5 separate regions of the Homo sapiens genome follow, and all the other regions are linked to region 1. The links are contacts of gene promoters, found by promoter capture Hi-C in human tissues and cell types (Jung and others, 2019). All regions are on one chromosome and are shown on one strand. Each heading gives the region's core, a stretch centred on a gene start or on the middle of the fragment in contact. The rest is flanking DNA. Distances are from core to core; before and after follow the strand shown. Region 1 holds the start of APEH (acylaminoacyl-peptide hydrolase). Region 2 holds the start of P4HTM (prolyl 4-hydroxylase, transmembrane). Region 3 overlaps QRICH1 (glutamine rich 1). Region 4 holds the start of USP19 (ubiquitin specific peptidase 19). Region 5 overlaps LOC124909377 (a long non-coding RNA gene).

Region 1 (2,716 bases), core at 137-2,636:
CACAGCTTTCATGGTGCCTGAAGGAGACTCTCTGCTCAGCAGTCTGTGGACATGGGGTAGCACAGGTCAGGATTATCTTGCAATAACCCCTTCCTGCTCCCTACTGGGCACACCTCTTAGGAGAGATTCTTGAGGCTCTGGCCCCACACCAGCTTCTGGAGCACCTCTAGCCCCACCTTGCCTTTCCTCCCTGAGGCAGAGACTCTACTCTCTGCAACTCCCCAGGCCACCATGGGCTCTAGTCCAGGCTGAGTTTGGAGCAAGCTTCCAGTGCTTATCAGGCCATGTCACCAGAAACTGAATGAGCTCCCAAGGGGGCAAGAACCTGGCTGCTGGCCTCCCTTCTAGGCACATGGTGAGCATTCATAAAAGGCTTGCATTGCGGACGGCTGTGGCCTTGCCCACAAGCTTCCTCCCTCAAACTTACTCCCCCCGGGTCTCCACACTGTTGCCTGCAGGTCCTGCAAACACCACTGAGTCCCCGTCATGGAACACCAGGTATTGGCGGCAGAATCGAATGTTCTCCATGCGTTCCAGGTCCCTCTGGGTCCACTCTGTGAGGGGAGGCATGAGACTGCTCACCTTGTCTTGGCTACTCCTGGCTACTGCCCCCAGCCCCACCTGACCCAGGAAGGCCTAGATCTATCTTCCCCAATCTCTCAATCTGTCTCCAGACACTGACACCCTGGCTGCAGGCTGGACAACACTTGGCCACAACCCTAGTCCAGGCCTCCAGAGCCTGAGCTGACAGCCTCTTTGAGAGAACCCCCTAGTAACCCCAGCATCCACCCTGGAATCTTGAGGGCAGCCTGGCATGTGTATGGGATGGCGTGTTGGTGGAGAGCCCTACAAGGTCCACGCCCTGAGCCCAGGTTTGACTTCTACCCCTACGCCGTCATCTCGTGCACTCATGGCCGCCATTCGATAACGCCCCGCACGCCCCCTCCCCCCCTCCACACACCTGTGTGCAGGGACCTGTGGGAGTGTAACCTCCAAGTCCAGGCCGGCTCCCTATATACCCTTACGCACTGTCAAGCAGCGAGCCCTCCACACCCCCTTCCTTCCCACCCCAGTGCGCGACCCCGTCGCCAGCCAGTTCCCCTTCGCACACACACCAGTGTGCACCGTCCGGTATTGGCCGCCGTACTGCGTGGTGACCTCCGGGCCCAGGCAGGCGGCGCTCAGCGCGGGCTGGCGGCTAAGGCCCCGATACAGAGCCGCCGCCTCCTCGGGCTCGCTCAGCAGCACCTGCGCAGGGGACACACCAGGGTCAGGCCCGGCCCGGGCTGCAGGGACCACGGGGACCGCGGGCCGAGCCCTCACCTGACGTTCCATAGTCTCCTCTCTGCCGCCGGGGCGAGGCGGGGCGTGCTCGCGCCCGGAAGTGAGGCTTCCGGGGGCGGAGCCTGGGACGGCCCGGGCTGTCTCCGCCCCTGCCCTGCGGCAATCTGTGAGGGGCGGGGCCTTCGGCTAATGGGTGAGGACCGTTGGCAGGGGGCGGGCCTTGACGGTGAGAGGACCCGGCCTGGGAGCGAGAAGTCCTGGGTGGGTGAGAGCAGGGGTCTCGCCAGGGGCGGACTAGCCAAGTGGGGGGCGGGGCCGTGGGCTGAGTCCTGGGCCTCTTACCGAGGGGCGAGGCGTTGGATCTCGGAGGAGAGGGGGCGGCCCTGTGGAAGCGGAACCCGGGAGCCCGGCTTCGGGGAGGGTAGAAGGGCCTACGAGAGAAGGGGTTGAGGGGGTGCTGCAAGGCGGAAGCAGCGCGGTCGGACGGGCATGGCCCAAGCACGCGAAGGGCGGGGCCCGAGGGGAATGGGACCAATGAGTCTTTGAGGATGAAGGGCAAGGCGGGCGGGTCCGGATTGGAGCCCTGCGAGGAATGTGGAGCCGGGAGCCTGTGAGCGTGAGCGTGAGCGTGAGCGTGAGCGTGAGCGTGAGGGTGAGGGTTGGGCGGGGCGGAGCCGGCCGCAGCGTGGATCTCCCGCGGCTCTGGGGCTGACTGTAGGGTTCCTTCGGGTCCACCACGAGGCCGACATTCACTACACAGTGCCAGGCCCTGCCCTGGAGGGAGTTCCACGCAGACGAAGAAGAGAAGGGCCAGGGTCCGGGCGGAGGGCGCGAAGCAAAGCCCTGGGGTGCGGGGCAGAGGGGCGGGTGCCAACTCTTAGGGTGCTGCCCGGACTTATCAGTCGCCAGGCCTGCCGCAAGAGCTATCTATCCCCGCAGCCTTTACCCAGCCTTCTCAGTGGCACCTTGTTGGGGACCGTGAGCTGGTGGGTCCCTGCCTTCCTCCCCAGGCCTCACCCTGAGCTCTTGGGTGTGAAAGGCCTGGTGGGCTCAGACTCCACCCAGGACCAGGGAGCTTCCTGTGGAAAAAACCTAGGCAGGCAGGTTCCCTGTGCACGTGGTACAGGATTGGCTGGGCTAAGGTGCCAACAGAGATCAGGAGAGGCTGGACAGTAAGGATGTTCCCTCCATATACCTGAGTCTGGCTGGTCTTCCACATTCAGGGCCCTGGCTCCCTGCTCCATGGCGTGCTTGTGATTGAGAGTCCACTTGTCTGGCCTGTAGCTTCCCCTTTCCCATCAGCCGCATCATTACTTACTCAAGATAACTAGTTAAGTAAAAAAAAAAAAAAAAAAAAAAAAAAAAGTCCCGGCCGGCCGGGCGCGGTGGCTCACGCCTGTAATCCCTGCACTTTGGAAGGCCGAGGCGGGCG
Region 2 (2,716 bases), core at 60-2,559, 680 kb after region 1:
GCAGGAATTAAATGAAATAATCATATGAAGGCAAGCACATAACTAGAGCTCAGAAACGATGAGCTATGTTGTGGCTCCAACTGGAGTCACCCTAGAAAGCTTTGCCCATGATGGCTGAACAAAGACTTCACCTTAAGAAGAATCTCAGAGTGCTGGCAGCAAAAGCTGAGCCTCTGACTGGTACTCCAGTGGAGGAGGCTGGGGGGGTACCAGTTTATCTACATTTGGACGGCCTGCTTCTCATCAGACCACAAGGCCCACTTCGGCAGTGGGATTTTCCCCAGAGGTCCTGAGGTCGGCAGAAAGCTGGTTATCAGTCTCCCACCTTCCTCCCAGTTCTAGAAGGTGACAGAATTAATGGTGGCACGGAAGACAGGTGCAATGAAACGTTTAGACACCAGCCTCAGGCTCACCCTGCCAGCCCTGTGATGGAAGAATGGACTGCAGGGAGTTGGGATAAGAGGGAGTGTTACCCTATTTCGAGGACGGGGAAGGTCCTTCACTTTGGTAATCCTCTGGAAGGGCTGCTCTGAAGCAGCCATTTTCAAAATAGAGGTCACGTGGTCACAACGAGCCTCAAGGTGGCCACCAAACCGCAGCCCCTGGCCCTTCCCAGGAGTATCTGGCGGACTTACCGAAGAGCAGCGGCTTGAGGCTGAGGGTTCGGATGAAGTGATCCCTGTCGGTGACCAGCTGGACCTTACGCTCGTGCCCCACCTAAGGAAAAGGCGCACAGCGGGCAGCTGGGGCGCCAGACCGCGCTGCCCAAGAAGGGCCAAGTCGCCCCGGCCCGGAGAGCGACAGCAGGCGAGTGAGTGGGAGCGCGCGGGACCGACGCAGAGCAGCGCCGGGGGCAGCGTGGGGACCCGGGCTGAGCGCCGGTCCTCTCGGGCTCAGCCGTGCAGGGCCTGGAGCGCGGCGGGGCAGGGAGGTCCTCACCTTGATGCCCTCCAGCCGGGTGAGGGGACCTAAGGTGGGCTCGGGCCCGGGGCCCTGGGCACGGTGTTGGGGCCCGGGATCGCTGCTTTCGTCGCCGTTGCTGTAGTGCACGAAGAGCAGCAGCGCCAGCACGTTACCCAGGTACAGGTGCACGAACACCATCAGCACCAGGAAGTAGGCGCGCGAGCAGATGCCGCGGGGCTTGCACAGCGGACGCACCGGTGCGTCCTCGCCGTCGCCCAGCCCGGCCGCCGCCTGAGCCTGGCAGTGGTCTGGCGGCGCCCACTGCGGCCTCGAGGCCTCCTCGGCCGCCGCGGTCTCAGGCCGCTGGCCTGTCACCGCCGCTGCCGCCATGGCACCCAGGTCGCGCGCGCGCCCAGGGGAGGGGCCGCGGGGGTGCCCGCGCTGCGCAGTCGCCCGGACAACGGCCGCCAGGCCCGCGAGCGCCGCGGTCACTAGGAGACGGTGCCTGGGGGTGCTGAGCCCGCCCGGAGCCGCCTGCGTCCGCGCCGGGCTCGGCCTTCCTGCGCCTTGAGCCCCAGCCCACGCTGGGGCTTCTCTTCCCAAGCTGGGTTGCCGTCGGGCAGAGCTGTACACTCTCCAAGTCAGAAGCCAAGGTCCCAAGCGTAGACGCGGACAAGAGCGGCACCATTAAGGCATACACTAGTGGGAGCTTCTCGGTGCCTGCGTGAAGACGCCCTCTTGCCTCCGGGAAAAGTATCGTCTGCATCTTCTTGCTCCAGGAGCGGGGGTGGGGAGCGCAGCGCGGAGGAGGCAGCGCTGAGATGACTCAACAGTGCGGCATTTGGGGGCGCCGCGGAGGCTGGGACTGCGTAAGCGGCGATAGGGTAGGACCCACAGCCTCCTCGCAGGCATTCTTGGAGCTCGGTTCCGCGGTCGGTCCGGATCTCCCGGGAAGTCTCGCCGGAGTCAGGCAGGCCTTAGGAAGAAGCTGCCTGATGTGCAAGGTTTCATAGGCCGTCAGAGGGGGCATCCTGGAGGAGCCCTGGCATCAGGAAAGTGAGCCCCCCATGGCAGCCCGCAGGAATGAACCAGTGCTCAGGTATATGGAACACTCCTTGCATCAAAGCTGGCACGTGTGAAGAGGCGGGAAGGGACTCTTCCATAACTGAGACACCATTACCTCAGAGAAAAATTAAACAGATTATCACCAAAAACGGGGGTGGGGGGAGGACATACCTACCAGTGGTCAAGTGCCAAGGCATCCCTGCTCTTCTAGAGCTGGTTATCCTCAGGAAGAGATTACTACACGCCCTCAGGGCAGAAGCTGACCCCCCTCCCCGAGGTGGACTTGCAGGCAAGAGCAACACTTTTAAGGCAGGTCACACTGGTGGTTTCTCCCTACCCTGGTTAAGACCCCCACTACCTCTACTCCCATCTCCTCTCCCTTCCCCATAGCAAAGCATAGTCTGCATTTTCTAGTCCCCTCAAGTCAAGGCAGGCCAGGGGCTCCAAGGGCAGGCCCACCTCTTTCTTCTAAGATTTTTTGTGTGTGTGTGACGGAGTCTCACTCTGTCGCCCAGGCTGGAGTGCAGTGGCGCGATCTTGGCTCACTGCAACCTCTGCCTTCCGGGTTCAAGCAATTCTCCTGCCTCAGCCTACCAAGTAGCTGGCATGCGCCACCATGGCGGGCCAATTTTTTTTTTTGTATTTTTATTTATTATTATTTAGTTTTAATTTTTTAATTATAATTTTTTTTTTTTTTTTGATACAGAGTCTCGCTCTGTCGCCAGGCTGGAGTACAGTGGTGTGATCT
Region 3 (2,716 bases), core at 101-2,600, 590 kb after region 1:
CTCAGATATCCTCATGGCTGCATGTTTTTCAGAAATACTTTAATTAATTTCTTTATTGCTTCTTACTAAGTCTTTTACTTGGAGCTAATTAAGAATCTTTTGTCTCTTTTAGAAGTTTCTCCATTTCTCTTTATTACGAAGGCTCAACTTTTGTGTCTTATGTGCAGCATCTTGAAGTTAAGTCTTCATTATTTTGTACAAGTTTTTGGTATTTTATGGTTTAGTTTCTTTTTCTTTTTTTTTTTTTTGAGATGGAGTTTTGCCCTTGTTGCCCAGGCCGGAGTGCAGTGGCATGGTCTTGGCTCACTGCAACCTCCACCTCCCAGGTTCAAGCGATTCTCCTGTCTCAGCCTTCCGAGTAGCTGGGATTACAGGCACGTGTCACCACACCTGGCTAATTTTTTTTGTATTTTTAGTAGAGGCGGGGTTTCATCATGTTGGTCAGGCTGGTCTCAAACTACTGACCTCAGGTGATCCACCCACCTCGGCCTCCCAAAGTGCTGGGATTACAGGTATGAGCCACCTCGTTCGGCAGGTTTAGTTTCTTTCAGATTTTGAAAGAAAATCGTACTATGATCAACCAGAATTACGTGTCTGTTACCATTACTACACTATAACCACTTGTATTTTTAGTAGAGATGGGGTTTCACCGTGATAGCCAGGATGGTCTCGATCTCCTGACCTGGTGATCCGCCTGCCTCGGCCTCCCAAAATGCTGGGATTACAGGCATGAGCCACCTCTTTCGGCCGGTTTAGTTTCTTTCAGATTTTGAAAGAAAATCATACTATGATCAGCCAGAATTATGTGTCTTACCATTACTACACTATAGCCACTGTGTAGAAAAAGATGATTTTTTTTTTTTTGAGACGGAGTCTTGCTCTGTCGCCCAGGCTGGAGTGCAGTGGCACGATCTTGGCTCACTGCAAGCTCCACCTCCCAGATTCACACCATTCTCCTGCCTCAGCCTCCCGAGTAGCTGGGACTACAGGCGCCCAACACCACACCCGGCTAATTTTTTTGTATTTTTAGTAGAGACGGGGTTTCACCGTGATAGCCAGGATGGTCTCGATCTCCTGATCTGGTGATCTGCCTGCCTCGGAAAGTGCTGGGATTACAGGCGTGAGCCTTAGATTAATACCACTTGTGGAAAATTCAGAAGAGTGTTTAACAGAAGAAACTTAATTACTCTGTGGTTCCATCATCTAGGCATAACTACTGTTAGCATTCCTTTTTATCATTTTTTGAGGTGGAGTCTCACTCTTTCCCCAGGCTGAAGTGCAGTGGCGCAGTCTCAGCTCACTACAACCTCCGCCTCCCGGATTCAAGCAATTCTCCTGCCTCAGCCTCTAGAGTAGCTGGGATTACGGGTGGCTGCCACCATGCCCTGTTAGTTTTTGTATTTTTAGTGGAGATGGGGTTTCACCATGTTGGCCAGGCTGGTCTCACAATCTTGGCTGGATGTGATGGCTCACGCCTGTAATCCTAGCACTTTGGGAGACCGATGCTGTGGATCGCTTGAGGTCAGGAGTTTGAGTACATCCTGACCAACATGGCGAAATCCCGTCTCTACTAAAATACAAAAATTAGCTGGGCATGGTGGCGGGTGCCCGTAATCCCAGCCACTTTGGAGGCTGAGGCAGGAGAATTGCTTGAACCTAGGAGGCGGAGGTTTCAGTGAGCCAGGATCGTGCCACTACGCTCCAGCCTGGGCGACAGAGCAACACTGTGTCTCAATAAAAATAAAAATAAAAAAGAATTTAGGCTGGGTGTGGTTGCTCATGCCTGTAATCCCAGCACTTTGGAAGGTGGAAGCGAGTGGATTACCTGAGGTTAAGAGTTCGAGACCAGCCTGGCCAACATGGCAAAACCTCATCTCTACTAAAAATATAAAAATTAGCCGGATGTGGGCCGGGTGCGGTGGCTCATACCTGTAATCCCAGCACTTTGGGAGGCTGAGGCGGGTGGATCATGAGTTTAGGAGTTCAAGACCAGCTTGGCCAAGATGGTGAAACCCTGCCTCTACTAAAAATACAAAAATTAGCCAGGCACGGTGGCAGGTGCCTGTAATCCTAGCTACTCGGGAGGCTGAGGCAGGAGAATCGCTTGAACCTGGGGGGCACGGAGGTTGCAGTGAGCCAAGATTGTGCCTCCTGGGTTCAAGCGATTCTCCTGCCTCAGCCTCCCAAGTAGCTGGGACTACAGGTATGCAGCACCACACCTGGCTAATTTTTTTTTTTTGAGATGGAGTCTCACTCTGTCACCCAAGCTGGAGTGCAGTGGCATGATCATAGCTCATTGCAGGCTCAAACTGCTGGGATCAAGCCATCCTATCCTCCTGCCTCGGCCTCCCAAGTAGCTGGGACTACAGGCGAGAACCACCATGCCAAGCTTAGTATTGATATTTTCTAATGGTTTTATGGAATTTTTCCTACCTCAAGCTTGTTTGTCTTTTAAATTATTACTATTATTTCTAAGAGATGGGATCTCACTGTGGTGCCCAGGTTGGAGTGCTGTGGCTATCCACAGACAGGATTCTACTACTGCAGTATGGAAGTTTTGACCTGCCCCATTTCCAACCTGGGGTGGTTCACCCCTCTTTAGGCAACCTGGTGATTCCCTGCTCCCTTGAAGTCACCATATTGATGCTGAACTTAGTGTGGACACCCGATTGGCATAGAGCACTATAGCCCAGAACTCCTGGACTACTCAAGCAAT
Region 4 (2,716 bases), core at 160-2,659, 550 kb after region 1:
GATCCTGGCACGTACTGTAGGAGATGTGCGTCGTGCCGAGCAGCTACTGCAGGATGCACGGCGGGCAAGGTCTGACCCCATCCCTGGCCCCTATCCCTGACACCTGGTTTTGATACCTCCAGGTTCTGATTCCCCCTTCTCCCCAGGAGCTGGGCTGAGGATGAGAAACAGAAGGCAGAGACAGTACAGGCAGCACTGGAGGAGGCCCAGCGGGCACAGGGTATTGCCCAGGGTGCCATCCGGGGGGCAGTGGCTGACACACGGGACACAGAGCAGACCCTGTACCAGGTGAGGTCTTCCTAGGACATCAGTGGGACAAGGTTATGGGCATGAACCGTAGATCTGTGTAACCTTTGGCTCACCCATGGCAGGTACAGGAGAGGATGGCAGGTGCAGAGCGGGCACTGAGCTCTGCAGGTGAAAGGGCTCGGCAGTTGGATGCTCTCCTGGAGGCTCTGAAATTGAAACGGGCAGGAAATAGTCTGGCAGCCTCTACAGCAGAAGAAACGGCAGGCAGTGCCCAGGGTCGTGCCCAGGAGGCTGAGCAGGTGGGTTGAGGCAGAGCCAGCTGGAGAAGGTAGGGGTGGAAGATGGGCCTCCACTGAGCTACCACGCTAACCTAACCCTCTACATCTGCAGCTGCTACGCGGTCCTCTGGGTGATCAGTACCAGACGGTGAAGGCCCTAGCTGAGCGCAAGGCCCAAGGTGTGCTGGCTGCACAGGCAAGGGCAGAACAACTGCGGGATGAGGCTCGGGACCTGTTGCAAGCCGCTCAGGACAAGCTGCAGCGGCTACAGGGTAAGAAATGGGGCACCAGAGACACAAGACTGCGGGAAACCCCCCCTAAACTGACACCTGCCCTTCCTAGAATTGGAAGGCACCTATGAGGAAAATGAGCGGGCACTGGAGAGTAAGGCAGCCCAGTTGGACGGGTTGGAGGCCAGGATGCGCAGCGTGCTTCAAGCCATCAACTTGCAGGTGCAGATCTACAACACCTGCCAGTGACCCCTGCCCAAGGCCTACCCCAGTTCCTAGCACTGCCCCACATGCATGTCTGCCTATGCACTGAAGAGCTCTTGGCCCGGCAGGGCCCCCAATAAACCAGTGTGAACCCCCACTGTGTTGTCTGGACTCTGATTTGGGGCGGGCGGGGGAGTCTCCAGGGGAACCTCGAGGTTGCCCCCAGCAGAACCCATGCACCGCTAAGCCACCCGAGCACCGCCTCCTTCCGCTCGGGCCCGCCCCGGAGCTGCGGGTCGCTCCGAGCCCATTCCCGCCGGAAGTGCGTCACCAGCTTGGCGCTCCGCCTCCCTCGGCCTTAGCTAGAAGTCGAAACAAAACAAGCCGCTAAGGCGGTGGCGGCGGCGCCGGGACGGGGGAGGGGCGCGCCGGAACCGGAACCGACCTGCGCCGGAACCGGAACGGAGAGCGGGTTGCCAGGGCCCGAAGAGGGCTGGCTGCGGCGGTCTCGCTCGGTGAGTGGAGCAGGCTGCAACTCGCTGGCTTGGCCGCAGCGGGGAGGCCGCAACGCGCGGCCGCGGCGGCCTGTTCAAGGTCACGGGCCGTGCCAGTCCCTACCCCTAGTGCCCCGCAGCGTGCCAGCCCACTGATGCCGGCAGGGCCGTTACGCTATGCCTGTGGCCAGCCTCCCACCTGGGAGAGGACTGGCGGCCAGCGAGGGCAACTTCGTGGGAGAGGTGGTGGCGGGCTCGGGGTTCAGAGGCTGAAGCTGGGTCGCAGCTCGACCGGGGCGCTGATCTGTGGTCAGTAACCCCGCGCTGCCATTTCAGGCCGGCTCGGGTCTCTAAACAGCCCCTTACCCGCCTCGACGTCCCTGGGGCATGGGGGAGGGACGCGACCTTCGGCTGGGGCCTGGGTGCAAGAAGGAGGCGCCGGTGGCAGGTGTCATTAAAGATCCAGCCCACCAGTACCACATCTGACCTGTAGAAGGGTATCCTGCCATCCCTCCTTCCTCCTTTACACACTTAGGGGAACACAGACTAGTCATTATCTGTCCTGCTACTGGTTCAGGCCAGGCTTGAGGCTGCCAGGAGTCCTGGATCTGTGGTCCTCCCCAGCCTCATCTCAGTATCTAGTTTCAAGACCTTCATTTTGGAGGAGGAAACAGTCCAGAATCCACTGGTGGGTCTGTGGGAAACTGTAGTGGTCCTTGTGGCTCAGAGCTCATGAGTGAAGGCATCTGGGAAGGAAGGTGATAATTTCTGTTCCAGTCTCAAACTGGATGCCCATCCTGCCTTAGTACTGGAGCAGGGTTGCTGCTGAAGAGGTAGCGTGACATCTAGATACACTTTTCAGTCCCTTTCTGCTTGGGACAGCAGCTGGGGAGAGGACTTTCTCTTGAAATGAAGAAGGACCAAGCAGTACATAGGAGCAGGTTCTTGCCAAGGGTGGGAGCTGGCAGGAGGCAGGTGGAGTGCCTTAGCCCCAGGACTTTTTCTGGGCAATGGTAGAACCTGGGTTGAGCCTGTTTACAGCCACAGAGCCTGGTTCTCCTGCGGCTTGTCTCCTGTCCTGCCTTCCTCCTCCACCTTCTATTTCTCCAGTGGTGACTAAGCAGCCAGTGAGAGTGAAGGAAAAGTGAGCACCCTGCTCGGAGTGCCAGCCCTGTGGGCTGGAGCCGTGGCTCCTCTCCAGATTGGTGGAGTAGCCTGGTCCCAGGCCATGACTTCCTTGACCTGGTGCCCCCTCAGTGAG
Region 5 (2,716 bases), core at 128-2,627, 540 kb after region 1:
TTCTCCTGCCTCAGCCTCCTGAGTAGCTGGGACTACAGGTGCCCGCCACCACGCCCGGCTAATTTTGTTTTTGTATTTTTAATAGAGACGGGATTTCACCATGTTAGCCAGGATGGTCTCAATCTCCTAACCTCGTGATCTGCCCGCCTCAGCCTCCCAAAGTGCTGGGATTACAGGCGTGAGCCACCGTGCTCAGCCCCTTCAGACATTTTTTTTTGAGACGGGCTCTCACTCTGTCACCCAAGCTGGAGTGCAGTGGCACAATCTTGGCTCATTGCAGTCTCAACCTTCCAGGCTCAAGGGATCCTCCCGCCTTATCTCCTGAGGAGCTGGGACCACAGGTGTGCCCCACCATGTCCAGCTAATTTTTGTATTTTTTGTAGAGATGGGGTTTTTCCATGTTGCCCAGGCTGGTCTTGAACTCCTGAGCTCAAGTGATCCACCCACCTTAGCCTCCCACAGACCTATTATTTTTTCAGAAATAGGGTCTCATGGGTCAGGCACAGTGGCTCACGCCTGTAATCCCAACACTTTGGGAGGCCGAGGCGGGTAGATCATGAGGTCAGGAGTTTAAGACCAGCCTAGCCAATATGGTGAAACCCCGTCTCTACTAAAAATACAAAAAAAAAAAAATTAGCCAGGCATGTTGGCGGTTGCCTGTAGTCACAGCTGCTCAGGAGGCTGAGGCAGGAGAATTGCTTGAACCTGGGAGGTGAAGGTTGCAGTGAGACGAGATCGCACCACTACACTTACAGAGCGAGACTCTGTCTCACAAAAAAAAAAAAAGGAAAAGAAATAGGGTCTCACTCTGTCACCTGGGCTGGAGTACAGTGGCATGATCTTAGCTCACTACAGCCTCAACCTCCCAGGTTCAAGTGATCCTCCCACCTCATCCTGCTGAGTAGCTGAGACTACAGCACACGCCGCCACACCTGGCTAATTTTTAAATTTTTTTGTAGAGACAGGATCTCCCTATGTTGCTCAGGCTGGTCTCAAACTCCTGAGCTCAAGTGATCCTCCTGCCTCAGCCTCCCAAAGTGGTGGGGTTACAGGTGTGAGTCACTGCACCTGGCCCATCCTTCAGGTCTCTCGAAGGTAAGGCTAGAGCTAGTGTCATCTGCTCTCTACCCTGACCCTATCTCTCCTCTGCAGCCTGTGCCTGTGACCCACAGGGCTCCATCTTGCCCAGCTGTGATTCACACATGGGCACCTGCTTCTTCAGAGAGGGCATCTTAGGGCTGAGGTGCCAGGCATGTGCTCATGGCTCCAGAGGTGCCTTCCCACACTGCACCTCCTGTCCCACCTGCTTCACCTTCTGAGACCAACTCCTGGCTCTGCTCCCACTGCAGCTGGAAGCTGTGGCCCAAGAGGTGGCCACCCTATGCTAGGGGATGCCTGGTGGGGGTGTTAGGGGCCAGGGTGGACACCTGCAGGTCCTAGATTGGGTACTGTAGCAGGCACAGGCTGCTCCCTCCAACCTGGGACCCTGCCCACTGTTCAGTGGGCTCTTGTTGCCTTCCACAACTCCTCCCATAGCCTGGACATAGAGTCACAGCCTTGGAGCAGCATCAACAACAGGTACACAGCCAGGGGGACTGTGGGTGGGAGCCATGGGGGAGTCACAGGAAACCATGGCTTGGACATGGTGTTGTAGGCAACATATTCCACATCTGACCCACGCCCACCAGCTGCAGCAAATCCAGGCCATAGCAAGCTCCACAGGAATCCAGGCACAGGAGACATGGTATTGGGAAAGGGGACCTTGGGGCATGACTGCCATGACCCACATGCAAGCAGCCGTGCAGATCATCCAGCGCTTCCTCATGGGTACATATCTGCTTGTTGCATGTCTGTTCACAGCCAAGGGCAGGGTTAATAGGGTATGCAGGACACTATCATGATACTCCTTCCAGAATGAGGAATATTCATCAGGGCTGACCAGGGGTCAAGTGGGAACACTAGTGTGTGCGTAAATTTTTTTTTTTTTTTTGAGAGGGAGTCTTGCTCTGTCACCCAGGCTGGAGTGCAGTGGTGCAATCTCGGCTCACTGCAACCTGCGCCCCCCGGGTTCAAGCGATTCTCCCACCTCAGCCTCCCAAGTAGCTGGGATTACAGGCACACTGTAATTTTTTTTTGTATTTTTAGTAGAGACGGGGTTTCACCATCTTGGCCAGGCTGGTCTTGAACTCCTGACCTCATGATCCACCCGCCTTCGCCTCCCAAAGTGCTGGGATTACAGGCGTGAGCCACCGCATCTGGCCATGTGTGTAGATAAATTTTTAACAACTGGCTGTGAGTCAGGGGAAACTGATTTTTAGCATTTGTCAATATCCATGATGTAAGTAATGCTATCATGATTGATTTCAGTCCATACCATTTGACAACTTATTTGCAAAATTCCTGAAAATTTAACAATTGGCTCTTTTTATTTTAGTATTATTATTATTATTTTTGAGAGGGAGAGTCTCGCTCTGTCACCCAGGCTGGAGTGCAGTGGCGTGATCTCGGCTCACCACAACCGCCACCTCCTGGGTTCAAGCGATTCTCCTGCCTCAGCCTTCTGAGTAGCTGGGATTACAGGCACCCGCCACCACATCCAGCTAATTTTTGTTATTTTTAGTAGAGATGAGTTTTCACTACATTGGCCAGGCTGGTCTCAAACTCCTGACCTTGTAATCTGCCTGCCTTGGCCTCCCAAAGTGCTGGGATTACCCTT

The links. Contacts are between HindIII fragments. The study calls those that stand out against the background at their distance.
Region 2: the fragment with the promoter of P4HTM here is called in contact with the fragment with the promoter of APEH in region 1 in 1 of the 25 tissues and cell types used here (aorta).
Region 3: a fragment that was not itself captured here is called in contact with the fragment with the promoter of APEH in region 1 in 1 of the 25 tissues and cell types used here (bladder).
Region 4: a contact is called between the fragment with the promoter of USP19 here and the fragment with the promoter of APEH in region 1, in 1 of the 25 tissues and cell types used here (spleen).
Region 5: a contact is called between a fragment that was not itself captured here and the fragment with the promoter of APEH in region 1, in 3 of the 25 tissues and cell types used here (dorsolateral prefrontal cortex, lymphoblastoid cells and mesenchymal stem cells).

What each region holds. Positions count from the first base shown.
Region 1 is chr3:49,673,021-49,675,736 of GRCh38, reverse strand. APEH (acylaminoacyl-peptide hydrolase) reads right to left here and starts at 1,386. Exons shown (of 22, transcript NM_001640.4): 1 at 1,324-1,386; 2 at 1,116-1,248; 3 at 428-554; 4 at 1-43. The coding sequence starts at 1,335. It also overlaps a transcript of BSN not described here. RefSeq lists a silencer at 1,092-1,701. The HindIII fragment of the contact is 11,571 bases long and covers 1-2,716 here.
Region 2 is chr3:48,988,834-48,991,549 of GRCh38, reverse strand. It overlaps P4HTM (prolyl 4-hydroxylase, transmembrane), which reads right to left and starts at 1,309. Exons shown (of 9, transcript NM_177939.3): 1 at 940-1,309; 2 at 636-717. The coding sequence starts at 1,293. LOC124909376 (a long non-coding RNA gene) reads left to right here and starts at 1,678. Exons shown (of 2, transcript XR_007095903.1): 1 at 1,678-2,002. RefSeq lists enhancers at 337-898, 1,556-1,715, 1,463-2,025, 2,026-2,589 and a silencer at 1,066-1,445. The HindIII fragment of the contact is 19,056 bases long and covers 1-2,716 here.
Region 3 is chr3:49,083,291-49,086,006 of GRCh38, reverse strand. All of the region lies in intron 1 of QRICH1 (glutamine rich 1), which reads left to right. It also overlaps the pseudogene RN7SL182P. Among named protein-coding and RNA genes, the nearest start is that of QRICH1, 9.4 kb to the left of the region's middle. The HindIII fragment of the contact is 6,032 bases long and covers 1-2,716 here.
Region 4 is chr3:49,119,516-49,122,231 of GRCh38, reverse strand. It overlaps USP19 (ubiquitin specific peptidase 19), which reads left to right and starts at 1,409. Exons shown (of 27, transcript NM_001199161.2): 1 at 1,409-1,476. It overlaps LAMB2 (laminin subunit beta 2), which reads left to right. Exons shown (of 32, transcript NM_002292.4): 28 at 1-69; 29 at 147-288; 30 at 372-548; 31 at 640-799; 32 at 870-1,118. The coding sequence ends at 1,006. RefSeq lists enhancers at 132-1,120, 1,121-2,110 and a silencer at 1,229-1,548. The HindIII fragment of the contact is 6,360 bases long and covers 908-2,716 here.
Region 5 is chr3:49,136,808-49,139,523 of GRCh38, reverse strand. All of the region lies in intron 1 of LOC124909377 (a long non-coding RNA gene), which reads right to left. Among named protein-coding and RNA genes, the nearest start is that of LAMB2, 5.1 kb to the right of the region's middle. The HindIII fragment of the contact is 9,716 bases long and covers 1-2,716 here.